7 separate regions of the Homo sapiens genome follow, and all the other regions are linked to region 4. Evidence: promoter capture Hi-C in 16 types of primary human blood cells and fetal thymus (Javierre and others, 2016). All regions are on one chromosome and are shown on one strand. The core of a region is centred on a gene start or on the middle of the fragment in contact, and the rest is flanking DNA. Distances in the headings are between cores, read along the strand shown.

Region 1 (2,761 bases), core at 262-2,761, 720 kb after region 4:
ATTCCTTCGAACCAGTATTTCTGCACTGAGACAGAGTTGACTCACCATATCAACAAAGAAATGACTTCTAGGTTTCAACTAGGGCTTTCTGTTCCCAGAGAATGATTGATGATTCTGCAGTTATGGAATTTCTCTTTGAAGATGAAGCTGAACCCAGCCTCACATCTCTTTTGAATTTTTTAAAGCTTCCTACATGTATTAGGGTGTAGGTAAGCCACTGATATAGTTTCGGTATTTGTCCCCTCCAAATCTTATGTTGAAATGTGATCTCCAATGTTGAAGGTGGGGCCTACTGGGAGGTGTTTGAGTCATGGGGGTGGATCCCTTGTGAATGACTTTGTGCCCTCCCCAAAGTAATGAGTTTGTGTGAGATGTGGTTGTTATAGAGACTGGAACTTTCCTCCTCTTTCTCTTGTTCCCCTTCTAACCATGTGACACATCTACTTCCCCTTCACCTTCCACCAGGAGTAAAAGCTTCCTGAGGCCTTATGAGAAGCTGAGCAGATGATGATGCTATGTTTCTTGTACAGCCTGCAGAACCATTAGCCAATAAACCTGTTATCTTTAAAAATTACCTAGCCCCAGGGGTTCCTTTATAGCAATGCAAAACAAATGGATACAACCACCAATCATTGTAACATATTCCTGGTAGTCTTCAAGGCCTTAATTCTACAGAATTGAATTTACTTCTTAAAAACCATACTTAATTTTTCATTTACTTAGTATATACAGTATAGATATTTTCCCTTCAGACCTAAGTGACAAATAACCGGTGTCACATTGTTTGTATGTTGTCATTCCTTTGAAATGGAAAAGGACCACTATAGGTGATCCTGAGGTCACTAGTGACTTAGATGAGGTTGATTAAATTGCATTGATAATTAAATTATAGGCCAAGTGCTGTGACTCACACCTGTAATTCCAGCACTTTGGGAGGCTGAGGCAGGTGGATTGCTTGAGCGCAGGAGTTTGAGACCAGCCTGGGCAACGTGGTGAAACCCCCATCTTTATAAAAAATACAAAAATTAGCTGGGCGTAATGGTGTGCACCTGTAGTCCCAGCTACTCTGGAGGCCGATGTGAAAGGGTTGCTTGAACCCAGGAGGTGGTGGTTGCAGTGTGCTGAGATGGCGCCACTGCACTCCAGCCTGAGCGACAGAGCTAGGTAAATTATAATTGTTCTCATAAGTAACTTTACTGTGTTTTCTTTTTTTTGTTGTTGAGATGGAGTTTCGCTCTTGTTGCCCAGGCTGGAGTGCAATGGCACAATCTTGGCTCACCACAACCTCTACCTCCCGGATTCAAGCGATTCTCCTGCCTCAGTCTCCTGAGTAGCTGGGATTATAGGCATGCGCCACCAAGCCCGGCTAATTTTTTATTTTTGGTAGATACGGGGTTTCTCCATGTTGGTCAGGCTGGTCTCAAACTCCCAACCCCAGGTGATCCACCTGCCTCGGCCTCCCAAAGTGCTGGGATTACAGGCGTGAGCCACCGTGCCTGGCCGTATTTTCTTATATTTGATATAAGAAGAGAAAAGGATTAGTTCAGAAGGCAATCAGCAAGGACACAACAGAGTATGTACCTTAGTCTTCAGATTTCACTCTTTCACACATGACCCACACTTACATGTGGATGCCCCATGTACTGTCACATCCAGGCCTTCCAGCCCACTTGGAGAAATGTGAATTCTAGGACATTTTATGATATCAGTTCAAACTTCATGATAAACATTGTGTTGTAACGTTCTCATTTACCTAATGAAGTTTGATTCTTTACACTGGAAGGTTAGGCAACTCCAAGCAGCCAAAAATTCTCTAGAAGTTATATACATCAGCTAAATGGAAATATGGCCCCATAAACCATAGATATCTGACTTTAAAAAGTCATTCCTTAGAAACCATACCTACAACTCGCTTTTATAATTATTATATCACATAGGTATAAATGATTCAGCACAGACTTGGATGTTTGATTTATGAATGTTTGTGTTGGTGAAGCATGCCTGCACAGTCATCCAATGATTCAGTGTAACTTTGCTGGCTGTAATGTTGGCTTGAACATTTCTTGCAACTTTATTGGCCCATCTGCTCCAGAGTAGAGTCGTGGAACACTGTGCTTGCATTGCATGGCATGAATGCTGAACAGTGTTGTGAAACTTCAACATAAAACAGAAAAGTGGTAACAGCAGTGACAATTACTGCTGTGTTTGTCACAACCTTATGAGCTAGCAACTAACATTTAATAAACATCAGGCATAGGGCTATGCACAGTTCATGTTCATATCTTGTGGAGTAGGTGTTATTACCACAGAAAACTGTGGTACAGACATTTAATCACACAGAGCTGATCAGTGGAGGAGTCACGATTTGAACTCTGGTTAGCTAGTCTTACCACTGTGTAACTATTCATAATAACTGAAATCAATAAGGCTATTTATCACTTGAGTTGATTGAAGTTTGGATCTTCAAAATATGACTGTTTTCTTCAGTAAACTTAAATTAGGTCAAAGTTAAGTTACTAATAGTCACAAAAGAGAGTATAACATGGACCTAAGCTTCTTAAATTTTTTATTTGCTTGTTTTCAGGATACCCAAAATGTTTGATTTCAGCCTTGAACAACTACATTAATAATCTTTTGGCCGGGCGCGGTGGCTCACGCCTGTAATCCCAGCACTTTGGGAGGCCGAGGCGGGTGGATCATGAGGTCAGGAGATCGAGACCATCCTGGCTAACAAGGTGAAACCCCGTGTCTACTAAAAATA
Region 2 (2,994 bases), core at 270-2,769, 700 kb after region 4:
GTGAGAAATGCACTTGCCACAGTACAGAATCAAATACTTTGTTTTTTCTTTTTCTTTTTTGAGATGGAGTCTCGCTCTGATGCTAGGCTGGAGTGCAGTGGCACGATCTCGGCTCACTGCAACCTCCACCTCCCAGGTTCAAGCGATTCTTGTGCCTCAGCCTCCCGAGTAGCTGGGACTACAGGCGTGCATACTTTGTTTTTTCAATCGAGAGTGATGATTACATGGATAGTTTCTACAGTCCTCTTAAAACTGTAGAGACCAGACTAGATTTTCCTTAAGTCCTTTAATCATCTTTGTGGTTTTTTGCAGAACCTTCTCCAGTTTTTCAAAATTCCACTTCAATTGTGGAGACCACAGCTAGATTAGTCACCGTAGAGAACCCATTATAATTAGCTCAACACTGTGCAGTTGCTTGGGCGGCTGACTCGGCCATGAAAACCCAGTCGGCCAGTCCCCATCGACACATAGGTTGTGTTCCAGGAGTTCATTAGTAAGTCGGTTGTTTGGAACACAGAAAGCCTTTCCCCATAGAAACAGAATTATAGATGGTGGCTTGTTTCCCAGGCCAGTGCACAAAAATCTATTTAATGCACATGCAGCTGAACCAGGGCCAGTCCCTTAAGTCTTGGACTTGCCTGATCCCCAGTGGAGCCCCCAGTCTCATGGAGCCCTGAGAACCTCTGAGCCTCAAGCATCCAACCACAAGGCCTCTGAGAGAGGTGAGAATTGGGCTGACAATTTTAGAGTGAGAATCATTTGCAGCATGATTATGAAAAACACTTCTTTGGAAGACTTAACCTGCAATCGTGCTTACTGTTATTAGAAAGCAATCAAGTTACCCTATGATAAATACACCGACTATATGCGGATATTGTACCTAAATCTACCTAAATTACCTTTAATTTTCACAGTACTCCTGTAAGAAAATGACTCTCTTTCTCAGTATTCCCATTTTGCCTGTGTCTTAAGGAGACTGTGGCCCAAGGTCAGGCAGATAGAAGGTGGCAGAACTGATGTTGGAGATCTGGCCTTCTGTCTCGTAAAGCTGAGACCTTTTCACTGCACAACACTGCCTCCCAGTGGACTGTGCTTAACACTGAACCTCGCGTGGCTGAGCCAACCACGTATACTCTGCGGGTGCACTTAACAAGTTCTTCATTCATACATCCAACAAAGAATCTTTGAGTGCTTCCAATGAGCGAGGCCTCGGGAACACAAAATCAAATTAGACGTGGTGTTCTCATAGAGTGGTTGGGAAAGGGAATAAGTAAATCAACGATTGAAATCTATGAGATGGAATGTAATTAAATTTTAAAAGAGAAAAAGATAACATAGAAACCCAGCAGAGAGATGTATTGGTCAGACAGACGAGGATGGTGGTGGACCAGAAAGTCCCTGTGCTCCCCTAGCTTTCACCTCCTGTCCTCAGACTATACCATCCACCGTCTACCACACCTACTGATACCGTCATCAGTTGAGCTGAGCCCCTCACATCTCCATCATTTTAGCTTTTAGCTTTCTGTAAGTCTCTCCGAAACCACGTCAGCCTTTGTTCCTGGTGATTTTAATATCCACGCTGATGACTGCTTCTGTACCCAGGCCTCTCAGCACCTTTAACTCCCCTTGTCATCTACCCACCTCAGTCACTTACCTCAGTGGTCGTTCTCTAGACCTGGTCACTGCCAAGAACTGCAACTCCTCTACAATCTCAGTTTATCATCTCGTCCATGGCACACGAAAGTGAGAGCGGCTGGAGGCTGCTAAATGCCCAGGAGGATGGGGTGAAACCCCACCTTCCAGCCAAAAACACTGAACTGCTGGTCCCAGATGAAACCCGCGACACAGGCTGAGTATTTCTGTTCCTTTTTGCCCCCGCTCTTTCCTGATTAATTATTTCTAAATAATGCGTTTTAACCGATCAAGCGTTGCCTTTTCCAATACTACCTATGACCTGCCCCTCCCCTATTCTAAGCCTATAAAAAGCTCGTGACCCAGCCACGAGGGGAGGAAAAAACCATCCGACTAAGGGGGTGGGCGACCACCCCCCAGAGTCCCTTCTCCGCTAATTGCTGTTCCCTTGCTCAATAAAATTCTTCTCCGCCCTCTTCACCCTTCAATGTCCAACGTATCCTCATTCTTCTCAGGCGTGGTACAAGAGCTTGGGAACTGCCGAACGCGGGTACAAGAGCTTGGGAACCGCCGAACGTGGGTACAAGAGCTTGGGAACCGCCGAACGCGGATAGAAGCTATAACACAGGCGAGCTGGGGCATGCCAGCGTGGCTGAGCAGGGCGCGGGTGGGGCATCGCTGGCCGGAGGTCCCGGTTTGCAAAGTGACCGAGAAGAAAAATCCTGCATCAAAAGTTACAGTTGCTGCCGGGAGCTGTGGCTCATGCCTGTAATCCCAGCACTTTGGGAGGCTGAGGTGGGCAGATCATGAGGTCAGCAGTTCGAGACCAGCCTGGCCAACATGATGAAACCCCATCTCTACTAAAAATACAAAAATTAGCCGGGCGTGGTGGCGAGTGCCTGTAATCTCAGCTACTTGGGAGGCTGAGGCAGGAGAATTGCTTGAACCTGAGAGGTGGAGGTTGCAGTGAGCTGAGATAGCACCACTGCACTCTAGTCTGGGTAACAGAGCAAGACTCCATCTGGGGAAAAAAAAAAGTTCCAGTTGCTGGCATCTTCTGCATTTGTGTTGCCAATCCTTTTAATTCTAGCCATTCTGGTGAGATTGTAATTGTAATAACATTGAAATGGTATGCATTTCTCTGATAAGGAAATAAAGTACTTTTATATACATTTATTGGACATTGGAATATCATTTTCGTGAAGTGTCTTGTTCATTTGCTACGGGATTGTCTGTCTTTATTGATTAATACAAGTTCTTTATATGATAAATATATTGCAAATAATTTCCTTTATTCTGTCACTTGCCCTCTTATTCTCGTCATTTTGATGAAAAGAAGTTCGCAATTTTGATGAAATCCAA
Region 3 (2,750 bases), core at 204-2,703, 840 kb after region 4:
CCAACATGGTGAAACCCTGTCTCTACTAAAAATACAAAAATTAGGTGGGCATGGTGGCGGGTGCCTGTAATCCCAGCTACTTGGGAGGCCGAGGCAGGAGAATCACTTGAACCCAGGAGGCGGAGGTTGCAGTGAGCTGAGATCGCGGCACTGCACTCCAGCCTGAGTGACAGAGTGAGACTCCATGTCAAAAAAAAAAAAGATACAAAATTAAGTCTTTGTGAATATGTTTAGAAATGTGACTTGAAGTTTAAGTTCCTCTCCAAGAAATCAGATCAAATATTTTTCACGTTCTGTTCAGTTACACTTACAATAGTTTATTATCTACTTACAACATGCAAGGTAATGTTGTAGACATATTGAGGGCATGTTAAAAATGAATAAGATAATCTTTGCTTTCTAGAGGGTCATAACCATGAAGGAGATACTTTTAAAGTATATATGGGTTCAGGTATGGTGGCATGAGCCTGTAATCCTAGCACTGTTGGGAGGCTGAGTCTGGAGGAGTGCTTGAGCCCAGGAGTTCGAGGTTATAGTGAGCTATGATTGTGCCACTGCACTCCAGCCTGAGTGATGGAGCAAGACCTTGTCTCTTAAAAAAAAGCATATGTGGGTAAATACTAGAAGAGAAGTACAGCTGAAGTGATGAGATTGCAAGGAGAAAGGGGAGAAACATACTGGGATGATCTGGGAAAGCCTAAAGATGGTGGGTTTTGAGCTGATTCTTAAAGGATTGACAGAATTTCATCAGATAGATGGCAGTTATTCTAGACAGCAGTAAATAACCTTGAGCAAAGGCTTGGAAATGGAAGAAAAGTAGTGCTTATTTTGGGAATACAGACCAACAATCATATGCTCTTTGGGGCACAAGATTTGAGAAGGTATAAGGTTGAAAAGTAGGTAGGGCTGAGTTTATGATACTTTGTTAGAGTACTTCAAATTTAAGAACCTCCTTTTCAAACATGACATGTTATCCATTTGGATATGTTGTGAGACAAATTGTATTTTCTTGACTTATTTGACAAATACAGTGAAAGCTTGGAGCCTAGTCAGCCTATGAAAGGACCTATGCTATTTCTTCCTCTCAATGAGATAGTTATAAAAGGGTGTACTGTATTCACAATGACACAGACTCTTATCACTAGATTAGAAAATGCCACATATGACTAACAGGTGATTTCAGTTTCATTTTAGTATTCGATCTTAAAGGTTTACACATCCTTTAATTATACTTGTTTTTAGTGAAGAAGAAGTAAAATATTCACAAGATGAAGATTTTTCCAGAAGGGACTTTGAGTCAAAGATGGCTTTTTATATTTGACAAGTAAGTCTATGTTTTATATGTGTTATATTTGGTTGACAAGGGAAAGTTTCCTAGTTTTAATTTCTTTAAATATCTGCTTTATCTCAGATAGTTGTACAGTGGGCAAAAGTTACGTATTTCGGCTCGCAGCCAGGTAGCCACATAGCTAGGTTGATATTTGGAATTGGATTGAAACCGTTTGTGTTAAGCCATTCTTGCATTGCTGTAAAGAAATACTTGAGACTAGGTAATTTATAAGAAACGAGGGCCAGGTGCAGTTGCCCATTCTTGTAATCCCAGCACTTTGGGAGGCTGAGGTGGGTGGGTCACTTGAGGTCAGGATTCGAAATCAGCCTGCCCAATATGGCGAAACCCCGTCTCTACTAAAAATACAAAAATTAGCTGGGTTTGGTGGTGTGCACCTGTAGTCCCAGCTACTTGGAGAGGCTGAGGCAGAAGAATCACTCGAACCCACTGTCTTTGATATTAGCACTTGGCTCCCTTTTAGTTTTGCAAATATCTTTAGCAAGTGGTTGCTGTACAGCCTGCTTAAAGTCCTCTTCTGAAGAAGCTTTTTCTTTCTCTCTCACCTGGCCAGGCTGCACATTTTTCAAACTTTTATGCTCTGCTTCCTGTTTAAATATAAATTCAAATTTTCAGTCATTTTCTTGCTTCCACATCTGGGCATAGGTTGTTAGAAGCAGCTGGTCCATGTCTTGAATGCTTTGCTACTTAGAAATTTCTTCTGCCAGGTACCCTAAATCATCACTCTGAAGTTCAAACTTCCATAGATCTCTAGGGCACAAATACAATCCAGCCAAGCTTTTTGCTGAGGCATAACATGGGTGATCTTTGCTCCACTTCTGAATAAGTTACTCATTTCCATCTGAGACATCAGCAGCCTGGACTTCATTGTCCATATCATTATCGGCATTTGGGTCACAACCTTTAAGAAGCTCCAAACTTTCCCTCATCTTCCCTTCTTCTCTGAGTCTTACAAACTCTTCTAGCCTCTGCCTGTTACTCAGTTCTAACACTGTTTTCATGTTTTCAGGTATCTTTATAGCAAAACTTTACTACTGGTGCCAATTTTCTGTGTTAGGCCATTCTTGCATTGCTATAAAGAAATACCTGAGACTGGGTAATTTATAAGAAAATAAGTTTAATAGGCTCATGGTTCTTCAGGCTGTACAGGAAGCAAAGTGCCAGAATCTGCTTTTGGGGAGGCCTCAGGAAGCTTACAATCATGGCAGAAGGTGAAGAGGAAGCACGTGTCTCACGTGGAGAGAGCAGGAGCAAAAAAGAGAGTAGTGGGGGAGATGCAATGCTTTACAACAACCAGATCTCACTCACTATCGTGAGGACAGCACCAAACCATGAGAGATACACCCCTATGACCCAAAACCTCCAACCAGGCCCCACCTCCAACATGGGGGATTACAATTCA
Region 4 (2,727 bases), core at 100-2,599:
AAAAGAAGGTGGGGGTAAACTACGTGTGTAGAAATGTGTGTGCACACTGGTGTGCGTTGGCACGTGTGCGCGACTAGATTTGAATCTGTCTGCTCCACCAGAGACACACATTCAAAGCCGAAGGCAGCAGCAAAAAGGTCAACATGCTTGCCTCTTTATTCCCAACACCAAAAATAACCCCCTGACCGAAAGAACTCTTCAATTACAAATACCAGGGGCATTCGAGGCTGTGGCCCGCACTAAGTCCCAGAGCGCGGTATCAAACGAAACCGAAAATCCGTCTGCTTTGCCGAGAGCTAGGGAAGCCACAACCAAACAAAGAGATCCCGGCACGCTGTCAGAGAGCGCGCGAGGAGCCCACGGAGCCGGCTGGGCGCACGCGGGCCGGCGGGGAGGTGTGCTATTGACTGAGCGCACCCCGCTAGCGTGGGCCTGGGGAGCGTGTGCGCGTGCGCGGCCACACACACACACACACACACACACACACACACACACACACACCGGCGTACTGGAACCTCTCTCGCGATCCCGCACCCAGCTTGAATTCAGCAAGAATCGAAAACAGGTGTGCCCCCGTGGTAAGACCCCGCCCCTAATCTTGGGGACCCCCACTCCACTCCTCCAGCCTGGGGCAAGGACGGGGGGCGGAATATGCACCAGGTGGGAGACAGCCGAGCTTCACTACACTGGGTTTCATTTTGCAGCGCGCCTTTGTGATGCTGCTGAGAAAAGAAAGGAGGAAGGGCAAGGGAGAAAGGCAGAGAGGCTGGGCGGCCAAGGGTGGCCGCTCCGGCATCTCCCTCGGCTGTGCTGGGCCAAACCCGCTCCCAGATTCCCGGCCTGCCAGCCACTCACAATCCCGGGCTTCCCCGCCGCTGCCTTACCCAGGCGCCTTCCCGGGGAACCCCACCAGCCGCTGCGTGAGGAGCCGGGGAATCCCAGCAAACTCTCGCCGCTCGCGGGGGGCGTCCGAACCCCCTGCTTAGGCGAGCGCCCTCACAGCATCGCAGACTCGGATGGACACGCGGATCCCGGCAGGGAGCTCTTGGAGCAGGCGTGGAATCCCAGGGACACCCCCTGCGCGCACATCACATACACGCACATCCTACACACACACACACACACACACACACACACACACACACACACACAGAGCCCGTGGGAAGACAAGACCGCCGGCGACAGCCCGCCGCGCTGCCCGGGCGCTCAAGCCGCCGCTACTCACTAGCGAGTCTGTCAGTCTGTCTGCCTGGCTGAGTAGAGCGGCGGGAGGGGGGCACTGAGCTACGGGAATAGTTGGGAGCCGCGTGAGGAGGCAGCCTCCGTCCAGCCGAAGAGAAATCAGTGAATGAGACTGTGACTCAGGCTGAACTCTTCCCCCCACCCCTCGCCTGTCACCCAAGCCTCTCCTCCGCTCCAAACAGACACACGCGCACAGAGACGCGCCCGGAGAGGAGCAGCCGAGGGCGCAGGCGCGAGGGCAGCCACCCAGCCCAGCCCTCCCACAGCCAGCCACCCCGCTGCCCTTCACCTGCGTGGCTGCGGGGGCCCAAGAGCGCTGAAGCCCCGAGGGAGCCGGTCTCTAGAAAAGTCAGCGGCTGAAGCTGACAGCCCACTCTGAATAAATAAATCATTTCTGATCGTTTATTCCGTGCCTTGGGCACACACCATGTCTCATTCACCATAGTAGATTCTGGGACCAAAGATAAACAAGACAAGATACTTGGTCGGAGGAAACCTCTGGCTTGTGGGGGAAATACTCATGTAAATGGCTTAAAACAACGTGGTACATCTATGCAGCCTGCTACTGGAGTAGCCAATATCCATTAGCCTTCATTTCCACGCAGCAGGAAGAACAGAGGCACGGGGGCATGGTGCTGCCAGTCAATAGGTAGATAAGCTTCCTAGAAGATTGCAGGGATGGGGCAGAGGACCAGACTGCAAGAGTGGCTGAGTAGAAAGGGGCACTACGGGTTTCCTAAGTTGTGTACTGTCAATAATGTGGGGGCAATGACGTTCTGACTTCCTCACCAGAGAGCTGGCTCTGGCAGTGACAGGTAGACAGATGTGAGGCCACACTGCGGGCACAGAAGTGAGTTGGGAGGCAGTCTGAAAGCAAAATGTGATGAGGCATTGGCAGGGGGCATGGAGAGGAGGGAACTGGGCAGCTGATGCAATCTGCAAGAGAAGAAAACCAGCCGAGGTAGGATGACTCCCAAGTTTCTAGCACCAAGTTGGGTGACTACGTGCCTGACAGCCAATAAAAGCACAGGTGGAGAAACATGCTTTAGGAGAAAGATTGTTCTCATCTACATGTGTTGAGTTTGAAATGTTTGGGGGACATCCCAGTGTACGTGTCCCATAAGCCACTGGACACACAGGAGGTTTGGACTAGGAATATTGATCAGTAGTCATCAGCCCAAAGGTGGCATGAGAAAGGATGGAATGAATAGGGAAGATCATCCAAATTGTGAAGAATCTAGGAGGACAGCGTACAGCCAAAGGAAGGAGACTGGAAGCAAGGGTCAGAGAGGTGTGGGACGCATCAGAAAAGCCAAAAGAGCAGACGACTGTAAGAAGGGAAGGGTCAGATGTGTACAGGCTGCAGGGAAGACAAACAGGATGATAACTGAAAAAAAAAAAAAAAAAGAGTATCTGAGGGCACTTGTGACCATTGACAGAGCAGGATAGTGCTCTAATGGAGGAAAGGAGGTTGCTCACAAGTAC
Region 5 (2,712 bases), core at 72-2,571, 780 kb after region 4:
TTCTACAGGAGTTGCTTGCAGAAGCAAAGTCCTTGAGCAGCTCAGAGTTGATGGCATGTAGTGCACAGCTGACCACAGTGACAAGATAGGGTGCCCACAGCAACCAGATAGAGGGCAGAATTTAGGGGTAGGCTGATAATGGCAAGATGAAGTTGTCTGCTTCTGATTGTTTCTGCTTTCTCAGTAAAATAGGAAACAAAATCATCAGGAGTGGAGATAGTGTGATGACATTTGAGAAGAGAATGGAGGAAAACTGTGGAGGGTGAGTAGATTAAAGGGATGTAATCAGACAGCAGGGCCCACTTGAGATTTGGGGCCATACATTTAAAGCGAGACTAGTAAGCAGAGCCACATAATTTTCTCCAGGCATATCTCCCTGTTTGGATACAGGTATGGAGAAGGCAGAATTGGGCTTTGCCAGGCCAGTATGACAAAGGATGTGGAGGATGTGCAAGGGTGAGGGCAGGGGTGATGAAGTGAAGGCCATGAGGTGGTGGTCATGCTTGTTATACTGTCACCCTCTGCCCTGAGAGTCCACCCTTTTCTGCTGTGAAAGGCAAATGTCTGCAGACTGCAGTACTGGGGCTCCCTCGCCCTTGACTTCCCATTGGAATGGGACTGGAAGTCTGTGGAAGACACTAGCCAAAAAACAGAGGGTTTGGGGATTTCTTTATACTCCCATCATCCCTCCTTGCCTTACTATGGTTCCAACAGTGACTATGTTTGTTCTCCTGTGGCCACTGCCTGTGTCAGGTAGCTTTTCTGTTACTGTTTCAGCTCTAAGTGGGCTCCAGGGACCTCATTCTCTCCCCCGCCGCTTCAGGCTGTTGGTTGTAATAGCTTCCCATGCTCTTACTCCCCGCATACTTCACCATCCCTTGTTGGTTCATTCAACCTGCTACTCCTCTGTGAATAAGCCCTTCATTAAGTGCTCTCCAGCTAAATTCTTTTGAATGGGCCATCTATTCCTTGCCAGTTCTCTGACAGAGACAGAGGACAGAGAAATAGTGCTAGGGCCTCTGAATTGGAGGCACCTATGGGGCTGAAGAATTGTTGTGGAGGGGGGCTGGCTGAGGAGGAAGTGGTGAGAGAGTGGGATGCTGGAAATGATTTCAGAGGTTGTGCAGTCACTGGCAATGAGATGCACAGGGTAGAAAGGTGGGAGTGGGTAGCTGAGGTGAATGGAGGAGGAGAGCTTTGAGAGTGAGAAGTCAAGGCAGTAGGAGGCTAAGGTGCTCAGCACATGGATGCTAAATCACCAAGAATGAGTGAAGGAGAAGAATGGAAAGGGAGCCAGTGAGGGAGCTGGGCACTAACATCTGCTGCAAATGAGGAAGAGCCTGAGAGGATGGCAGATGATTGCCACAGGAGGGTAGTGGGTGGTGTAGTTTCAGGGCATGGACTTCCAGAAAAGCTGGGGTTTTTGAGCAAGGGAGGAGAATTGTCTGTCAGCAGCAATGAGGACCATGAAAGACACCCATTCCACCCCTAGGCTCTGTGGTATGTGGTGCGTGGGAGGGAAGAAACAGCCACCTCTTGAGAAGGCTCCAGGGAAGCAGGTTTCAGTTTTCAGTTAGAGCTGCCTCCAGGTTTCTGAGCGAGAAGGTGAAGAAAACATTCAGAAAGAGGCAGAGGGTGTTGGGGATTTGGTAGATGGCACACCTGGAGCTTTGGGGGATACACTGCAAGAGTTTGGGGGCTGCGAAGGGGCTTTTGGCTTAAGCAAAATAAAAGGATGAATAGAGCTTTGTGGGGAGGAGATTGTGGTGATGATGGATAACAATGGAGGTTTGACTCTGGAGGTGACTAAGGTGGAAAGAGTTTTGAAGCATTACAGAATGATCCTGAGGTCTTTTAGGGGAATGTGGAGGTTTAATAATAATTTTAGCTTCTTTTTTAGGATTAGCCTCTTAAGTTTATAGTGAAAGGTGGCTGCCATTAAATTCTCCAAGCGTAGGTCATGGTGGTGGGGAAAGTGGTCCTACCAAGACACATGGGCTCTGGAGGCCTCCCTTAGCAGATTTTTCGTTTTGTTTTGTTTTAGAATGGGGACCAGGCTGGTCTCAGAATCCTGGCCTCAAGCAATCCTCTTGCCTTGGCATCCCAAAATGCTGGGATTACAGGGATGAGCTATCCCACCAGGGACCCCTCAGGCAGATTGATTTCTTATGTGTGTTCAGCTCTGGAGGCCACATTCCAAGTAAGTTAAGACTTTGGCAAACATAGCCTGGATCCTAAAATTCTCAGGATTCTTTTAATGACTGTAGGACAGAAGGCAGCTTTTTGGGATTAGATCTATCCAGGAAAATTTGTGGTACAAGGTTGCTGTAATTATGAGAAATATAAAAGAACAGAAATATGATCTTTGCCCTCAATGAGGTTGTGTTTATGTGGCCTTACAAGACATGTATAAGAATGAAAAACCTGTTCTGAGATGATGTGAAAGTAGGTACAAGAAATTACCTAATAGAAATAAGTTAGAACTAAAATGGGACTGTTTGATTTCAACCTCTCCTTGGGGACAAATTGATGAAAAGTAAGAAACGAATGTTTGTTACATGCTTATTAAATTCCAGGCATTTTGCCTTTACATATATCATTTGGTCTTCACATAAATCTTATAAAATAGGTGTTGTTGTCTTTATTTAAAGACAGAGAAGCTGAGGCTCAGAGATGTTAAGTAATTTGCCCAAGGTCATAGGTCCAGGTATC
Region 6 (3,067 bases), core at 560-3,059, 760 kb after region 4:
ATAATTTGCTAAGAATATCAGTAAGATAAAACAAATATTACATTTAAAAATTAGTTTAAATTTTAATTTACATTACCACTAACATAATTTTAAGACAAGCCATTAACATATCAAATGTAAAAAATCTAAGCTAAAATACTGACTGAAGGTTTTTTTTTTTTTTTTTTCAAGAAATGCTTAAGGATTTTAGGCTTTGTGGAAAGAGGGTTGGTGGGAGAATGATGGGGTAAGAGTTGAGGTAAGAAGAATGGAGGAAGGGCAAACATGTAAGAAAATACTTAATTTTAGAAAAATTTTTCAAAAAAAAAAATGACAAGACATTTTTTAACACTACAAAATCCCAGCTTACTTTTTTGGTTTTCTGGAAGTAGAGTTCAGGAAAAGCATGAAGCCAGTAAGCCAGCTGTGATATGTAGAAAAACTTCATTTGAAATCTGTACAACACAAGAAAATGAAGAGTACCTTTTAAAGCATAATTTTTTTAAAAAAAAGTAAACAAATACTGGAAATCAGGATATACTAAGTAACTACCTTTGTGTCATCATTCCATACAATATCTGTGCACCTTTAAACAACTCTTCAACAACCTCTTTCCCCATCTCCCTGTGACAGTCCCACCATTGGACAAGACCCCTGGATTAAACAGCAGGCAAAGATACTATCTGCAGAAAGCTATTGACATGTAAGCCAGTTGGGAGGAGTCAGAGCCCCTATTAGTTCATTAATACTGACTAGTATGTCATGTTAGCTACTGAAAACATAACCCACATGTCTATACAGTTTCATCAAGACAAGAAGGGGAAAAAGACTGACACAAAAGCAAAGGCTCATAGATTAATAATCACCTGAAACTGGAATAATCCCAATTTCAAATATCCTCTGTTTTTTTTTTTTTTCTTAGGCAAATATGGTAACTGTACCTGGTTGGAACATGGAGAAAGCCCCAAATAAATGGAGGCAGAGCTAGGATTAAAGACAGTCAGAATAAGGCACACAAGGGCTCTCCAGGAGCTATATCATAATCAGTCTAGAACCAATACTCTCCTCTTGACATTATATCCCTCTAGCCCTTCTGCTTCCTCTTTATTCTCCCTGCTCCTTCTCCTCCAGAAGTCTAAAATAGAAAACACAAAGCCAACCTAATTTCTTGGTGGTCGGGGTGGAGAGAATACAGTCCCACATAAATATAATATTTACAAAGTTCGTTGAACTAATAAAACTTTAGAAATCAGAGTATGATTCAGTAGAGTGGGTATTACTGCTAGACTTAAAATACCCACAGTCAGGTTATTCCCTTCTTTCCTTCGTATCTTCTCCCTTCTCCAATTCTCACATCACAATGTATTTACTAAATACTGTGTAGGTGACAAGCACTTGCAATGTACCTGGCACAATGAAGGATATAAAATAGTTTTTACCGCTACCAAGGCACATATAGTCTTAGTGGGTATGGGCACAATACAAGACTTACAAAAATGAGACAATTATAGAACAATCAAAACAATATATAGACACTACATCAAATTTCTACCAAAATGACAAATTTGGGGATACAAAAGACCAATACAGGCTAAAATAGCAAGGAAAATTAATATAGAATAGTTGTACTAGAGCTGGGCTCGAATAATGAATTATTCAGACGTCTTGGTAACCACTGAGCACTTTAACCCAGCAGCACTGTACAGACTAGAGAAATAAAAAAGAAACAATTCCTAACCTCAAGAAGCTTATAATAGGAGAAAGAAAGGAAGATGTGAAAAGAGACAGGGGGTGGGGACAAAGAAAAGGAGCAAAAATATAGAGAAGATGGAGTCATAAAAAGGAGAAAGTATGAGTGAAAAGAAGGGAAAAGAAGCGAGTACCAAATTAAGTTATGTTAAAATCAGTTGTCTCAAGCTTACAAAGATGTTGAAAAGATTAGAATAGAAACATTAAAAAAAGGTACACAGCTTTTTTTTTCTTACGGCAGTGGGACTGTCAAAGACATATTTTCATCTATTTTATGCATTTGCCTAAGGTCCTAAAGAGAATAACAAGAATGAATTCTGATTAATAGTGACATGACCATGGTCCTTAACAAAGAAAGGGCTGCTAAAAATGACTTACGTCATCAGGTTATGGGGATAAGCCCTCCATAAGATAGTTGGGTCTGAGATGTAGTTTTCCTAAGAAAGAAGATATAAAAATTAACCTGTGAGCATAATGCAAACTTCTTGGAAAATAAGGCATTACTTTCATTTCTCAAACATTTACAGGTCCCATACCAGGTTGCAAAGAACCCACTAATGTCAAAATCCTTAGTTGTTTTAGTTATTTTCAAGCCAATTTGAGTTGGTTACTTGAGCAAAATGAAAATCAATGATAGAAATGAGATATGGAATCAGGTAAGACATAATTCCTGGCCCTAAAAAATCTTTCAATCCCATAGAATAAAAATACACGTACACAAACAAACATAAAACCACCAATAAGAGGCACAACAGTGACCAGGAGAGAAGAATTTTGTCTTAGGTAATCAGAAGATTTCAGGAAAAGTTTGTAGCATCTGACAGGAGACAAAGGATCAGGGTGCTACCGAGTTTTATGGAATTACGTCAATAAAATACTGCCCCAATTTTTTTCTTAGATAATCAGATCTACTCAGTGAGAATTACTGCATATGTAAAAAAAAAAAAAAAAAGATTAAAAAATAAATAAAATCTAAAGTGATTTTTGTAAGAGTATTTTCCCACAGAAGTATAACTTTTATGTTTTTTTAAAAAAATGTATAATAGTTTTTAAACTAAAATTTACATATTACCTATAAAGTATTATTAAAGCAGCACAGTAAAATGGAATGAGCAATGGAATAAAAAGCTGAGTTTTAGTCTACTTCCAACATGAAGTGCTTTACCCTGGAAAACTCACTGTTATTCATCTCTAATACAGTGATTAGAAAGAATTATGTGTCTGACAAACTCAAAAGTATGTAAACTATGGAACACCATATAAATTTAAGGGATTGTTATCACTAATATTAAAGCAAATACTGCCTTTCTTTTTCTCATTAGTTAGAGTGATACAACTA
Region 7 (2,797 bases), core at 111-2,610, 810 kb after region 4:
CTTAGAAAGTTTTCATGATGCTACAGACAGTTGGCCCTGTAATTTATTTATTAGGTTACAGGGTAATATCTTTGTATATTTTAATTTAAATTTAATTTTTTTAAAAAAGTTTTTGGGCCGGGCGCAGTGACTCATGCCTGTAATCCCAGCACTTTGGGAGGCTGAGGCGGGTGGATCACCTGAGGTCGGGAGTTCGAGACCAGTCTGACCAACATTGAGAAACACCATCTCTACTAAAAATACAAAATTAGCTGGGTATGGTGGCACATGCCTGTAATCCCAGCTACTCGGGAGGCTGAGGCAGGAGAATCGCGTGAACCCAGGAGGCAGAGGTTGTGGTGAGCCAAGATGGCGCCACTGCACTCCAGCCTGGGCAACAAGAGCAAAACTCCATCTCAAAAAAAAAAGTTTTTGAGATACAGTCTTGCACTGTCACCTAGGCTGGTGTGCAACGGTGCGATGTAGGCTCACTGCAGCCTTGACTTCCCAGGCTCATGTGATCCTCCCATCTCAACCACCCGAGCAGCTGGGATCACAGGCATGTTCCATGACACCTGGCTCATTTAAAAAATTTCTTGTAGAGATGAGGTCTCACTATGTTGCCCAAGCTTGTCTCGGACTCCTGGGCTGAAGCAAACCTCCCACTTAGCCTCCCAAAATACTGGGATTACAGGGGTGAGCCACCACGCCTGGCCACAAAAGCTTACATTTTTAACCTCTAAGCTATGCTGCCTACACAGCAGACATCTAATAAACATTTGCTGAAAAACTGAATTATACTGACTGCTATATAGTGCTGTCAATACAGTGATATTCTCAGAGGCCAGTGAGGTGTAAGGCTCTTTCCCTACATACTATTTTACTCATGTTCTTTGATTTTTTTTTTCTTTTTCTCCATTGTTTGGCATTGCTACTACTTCTCACTGCTTTGCTACTACTTCTCACTGTTAACATTCCAATATTTGTGTCTAGCAGGTCACCCCTCCTCTCTTGGTGCAGGCTGGGACACAAGATAATCAAGATGGCTAGAATAATGCAAAAATTATTACAAAATGTAATCATCAGGCTGTTGGTAGTTTCTCCTACATAGTTAGGCAGTTTCTCCTACATAGTTAAGTATATAAAGTTCAATGATGGCTCGAAATGGCTATCTTTGTTCTCTAAGGCCAGTTTTTGTTTAATTTTAGCACTGTAGAAAGTTTAGGCTGCTGGTCTCAAATCTAGAAAAGTGGCGTAACTTCTGATCTGGGATATAAGTTTATCATTTCTATAGTCTACTAAATAGATAATTCTAATAAATTTGTGGCTACATACAAATAAGAAAACTGAAAATTACCTTGTAAATAATTTTTACAAGCTCCATTACTGTAAATGATTTCTCAAAGTTCTCACGAAATAATGTAAGAATTTGCTGCTCTCGAATATTTCTGTGAGAAATGTATTGTTGAATTTTAGCTTCAGCATTATGAATTACTGGGCCATGTCCTGAATTAAAATAATTATAAGAGTTACTTCAGTCAGATAAAAAAATACTAAGTACAACAGAAGCTAACTCACTCTATTTAAAAATAATTCATATGATATATTGAAAAAGCATACTAAATGTCAAATATGAACTATTTGGAAAGCTATACAGGTGAAAGAGATTTAAAAATTATATACAATACCCCCCAATTAGAAAATTATAGCAAATACAATCTATAGAAAATATTGTGTACATTAAAAATATGGAATAGAAATTTAACAATAAAACACAGCAATAAAAATAGCAACTACAATAATAACAATAGGTAATGTTTATGGAGTGCTCACTATGTGCTAGGCACTGCCCTAAATGCTTAACATACATTATTCTTACAAGAATCCCATGAAGTAGGTACAATTATTACACATTTCTTATGGTAGAAACTGAGACATACGGAGGGTAAATAATCCGTCCACAGTTACATAGCTAAGAAGGGGTGGAGTTAGGATTCTGACAGGATCTCTTAACCACTCTGTGCTCTTGACCATTAGGCTAAGCTTATAAAATACTGCAAAAGGACAATGTAAAAAGCAGTTTCATGTACATGACCAAGCTCTATTAAAAATTCACAAGACCCACAGTAAAACTTTAAGAATCCTATGTATAGGCTTCTGTATGTCAGAAATTTTGACAACCCAGATTAAGTTATACTATAATTTACTTCCCCTTTAAGACAGTACACATTAATATTATATATTATATAAGTCTGCAAGAATGATGTTCTTAAATATTTGAGAACAAAATATCCAGAAGCAGGCTAACCTATTACGGGATCTGGTTAGACACAGACCTATCATTTATTTGCTGTGTGGCTAATAAATGAGGAAGTATCTGAATCTCTCTAAGCTGTTTCTTCTGCTGTGTGGTGAGGAAACCACTACCTACTTTACATGGGTTTTGGTGAGGATGACAACTGTAAAGGCCCCTGCACAAAACCTGATGGCTAGAAGACTTTAATATATGGTAGCTATGGCTACAGAGCATAATTTACATATAAACAACTGCTGTGCTAGTAAGCCAGTTCACTGGATTCACTAAAGCACTCTAGAATCTTTACTAGGTAGCCTCTCATTAGCTTAGCTTGAATGTGAATTCACTCAACGTCTGCCCTCTTCGCTTTAAAAATAGCTGTCTTTAGCAAAAACAAAGCAAAACAAACAAACAAACCCCCCCAAAGCTATCAGCCCGCAATCCTTTAATGTCATCATATAAATCTAAATGCCCAGCTCTACCGTATGTTTTCTATTCCCCCAGCAGTAGGAACTCATCGCA

The links. The method cuts DNA at HindIII sites, captures the fragments that hold promoters and counts their contacts. A CHiCAGO score of 5 or more calls a contact.
Region 1: a fragment that was not itself captured here is called in contact with the fragment with the promoter of SLCO5A1 in region 4 in 1 of 17 cell types (neutrophils); the score reaches 6.0 in neutrophils.
Region 2: a fragment that was not itself captured here is called in contact with the fragment with the promoter of SLCO5A1 in region 4 in 3 of 17 cell types (naive B cells, total B cells and neutrophils); the score reaches 7.0 in naive B cells.
Region 3: a contact is called between a fragment that was not itself captured here and the fragment with the promoter of SLCO5A1 in region 4, in 1 of 17 cell types (total B cells). The highest score is 6.0, in total B cells.
Region 5: a contact is called between a fragment that was not itself captured here and the fragment with the promoter of SLCO5A1 in region 4, in 3 of 17 cell types (total B cells, naive B cells and neutrophils). The highest score is 8.8, in total B cells.
Region 6: a fragment that was not itself captured here is called in contact with the fragment with the promoter of SLCO5A1 in region 4 in 1 of 17 cell types (total B cells); the score reaches 7.5 in total B cells.
Region 7: a fragment that was not itself captured here is called in contact with the fragment with the promoter of SLCO5A1 in region 4 in 1 of 17 cell types (total B cells); the score reaches 7.3 in total B cells.

Annotation. Positions count from the first base shown.
Region 1 is chr8:70,557,209-70,559,969 of GRCh38, forward strand. No RefSeq gene overlaps it. Among named protein-coding and RNA genes, the nearest start is that of TRAM1, 50 kb to the right of the region's middle. The HindIII fragment of the contact is 2,079 bases long and covers 473-2,551 here.
Region 2 is chr8:70,533,560-70,536,553 of GRCh38, forward strand. It overlaps LOC105375890 (a long non-coding RNA gene), which reads right to left and starts at 2,386. Exons shown (of 3, transcript XR_929030.3): 1 at 1,655-2,386. The HindIII fragment of the contact is 3,569 bases long and covers 1-2,994 here.
Region 3 is chr8:70,673,576-70,676,325 of GRCh38, forward strand. XKR9 (XK related 9) reads left to right here. Exons shown (of 5, transcript NM_001011720.2): 2 at 1,243-1,324. Among named protein-coding and RNA genes, the nearest start is that of XKR9, 5.6 kb to the left of the region's middle. The HindIII fragment of the contact is 837 bases long and covers 1,036-1,872 here.
Region 4 is chr8:69,833,629-69,836,355 of GRCh38, forward strand. It overlaps SLCO5A1 (solute carrier organic anion transporter family member 5A1), which reads right to left and starts at 1,350. Exons shown (of 10, transcript NM_030958.3): 1 at 1,226-1,350. It overlaps SLCO5A1-AS1 (SLCO5A1 antisense RNA 1), which reads left to right and starts at 484. Exons shown (of 4, transcript NR_186568.1): 1 at 484-565. RefSeq lists an enhancer at 1,106-1,185 and a silencer at 1,506-1,615. The HindIII fragment of the contact is 8,160 bases long and covers 1-1,898 here.
Region 5 is chr8:70,613,751-70,616,462 of GRCh38, forward strand. All of the region lies in intron 1 of LACTB2-AS1 (LACTB2 antisense RNA 1), which reads left to right. Among named protein-coding and RNA genes, the nearest start is that of LACTB2-AS1, 6.5 kb to the left of the region's middle. The HindIII fragment of the contact is 4,125 bases long and covers 1-2,712 here.
Region 6 is chr8:70,594,157-70,597,223 of GRCh38, forward strand. TRAM1 (translocation associated membrane protein 1) reads right to left here. Exons shown (of 11, transcript NM_014294.6): 5 at 2,107-2,165; 6 at 350-434. Among named protein-coding and RNA genes, the nearest start is that of TRAM1, 13 kb to the right of the region's middle. The HindIII fragment of the contact is 170 bases long and covers 1,725-1,894 here.
Region 7 is chr8:70,639,566-70,642,362 of GRCh38, forward strand. It overlaps LACTB2 (lactamase beta 2), which reads right to left. Exons shown (of 7, transcript NM_016027.3): 5 at 1,337-1,485. The region is part of intron 1 of LACTB2-AS1 (LACTB2 antisense RNA 1); the gene reads left to right. Among named protein-coding and RNA genes, the nearest start is that of LACTB2, 28 kb to the right of the region's middle. RefSeq lists an enhancer at 2,497-2,546. The HindIII fragment of the contact is 1,320 bases long and covers 701-2,020 here.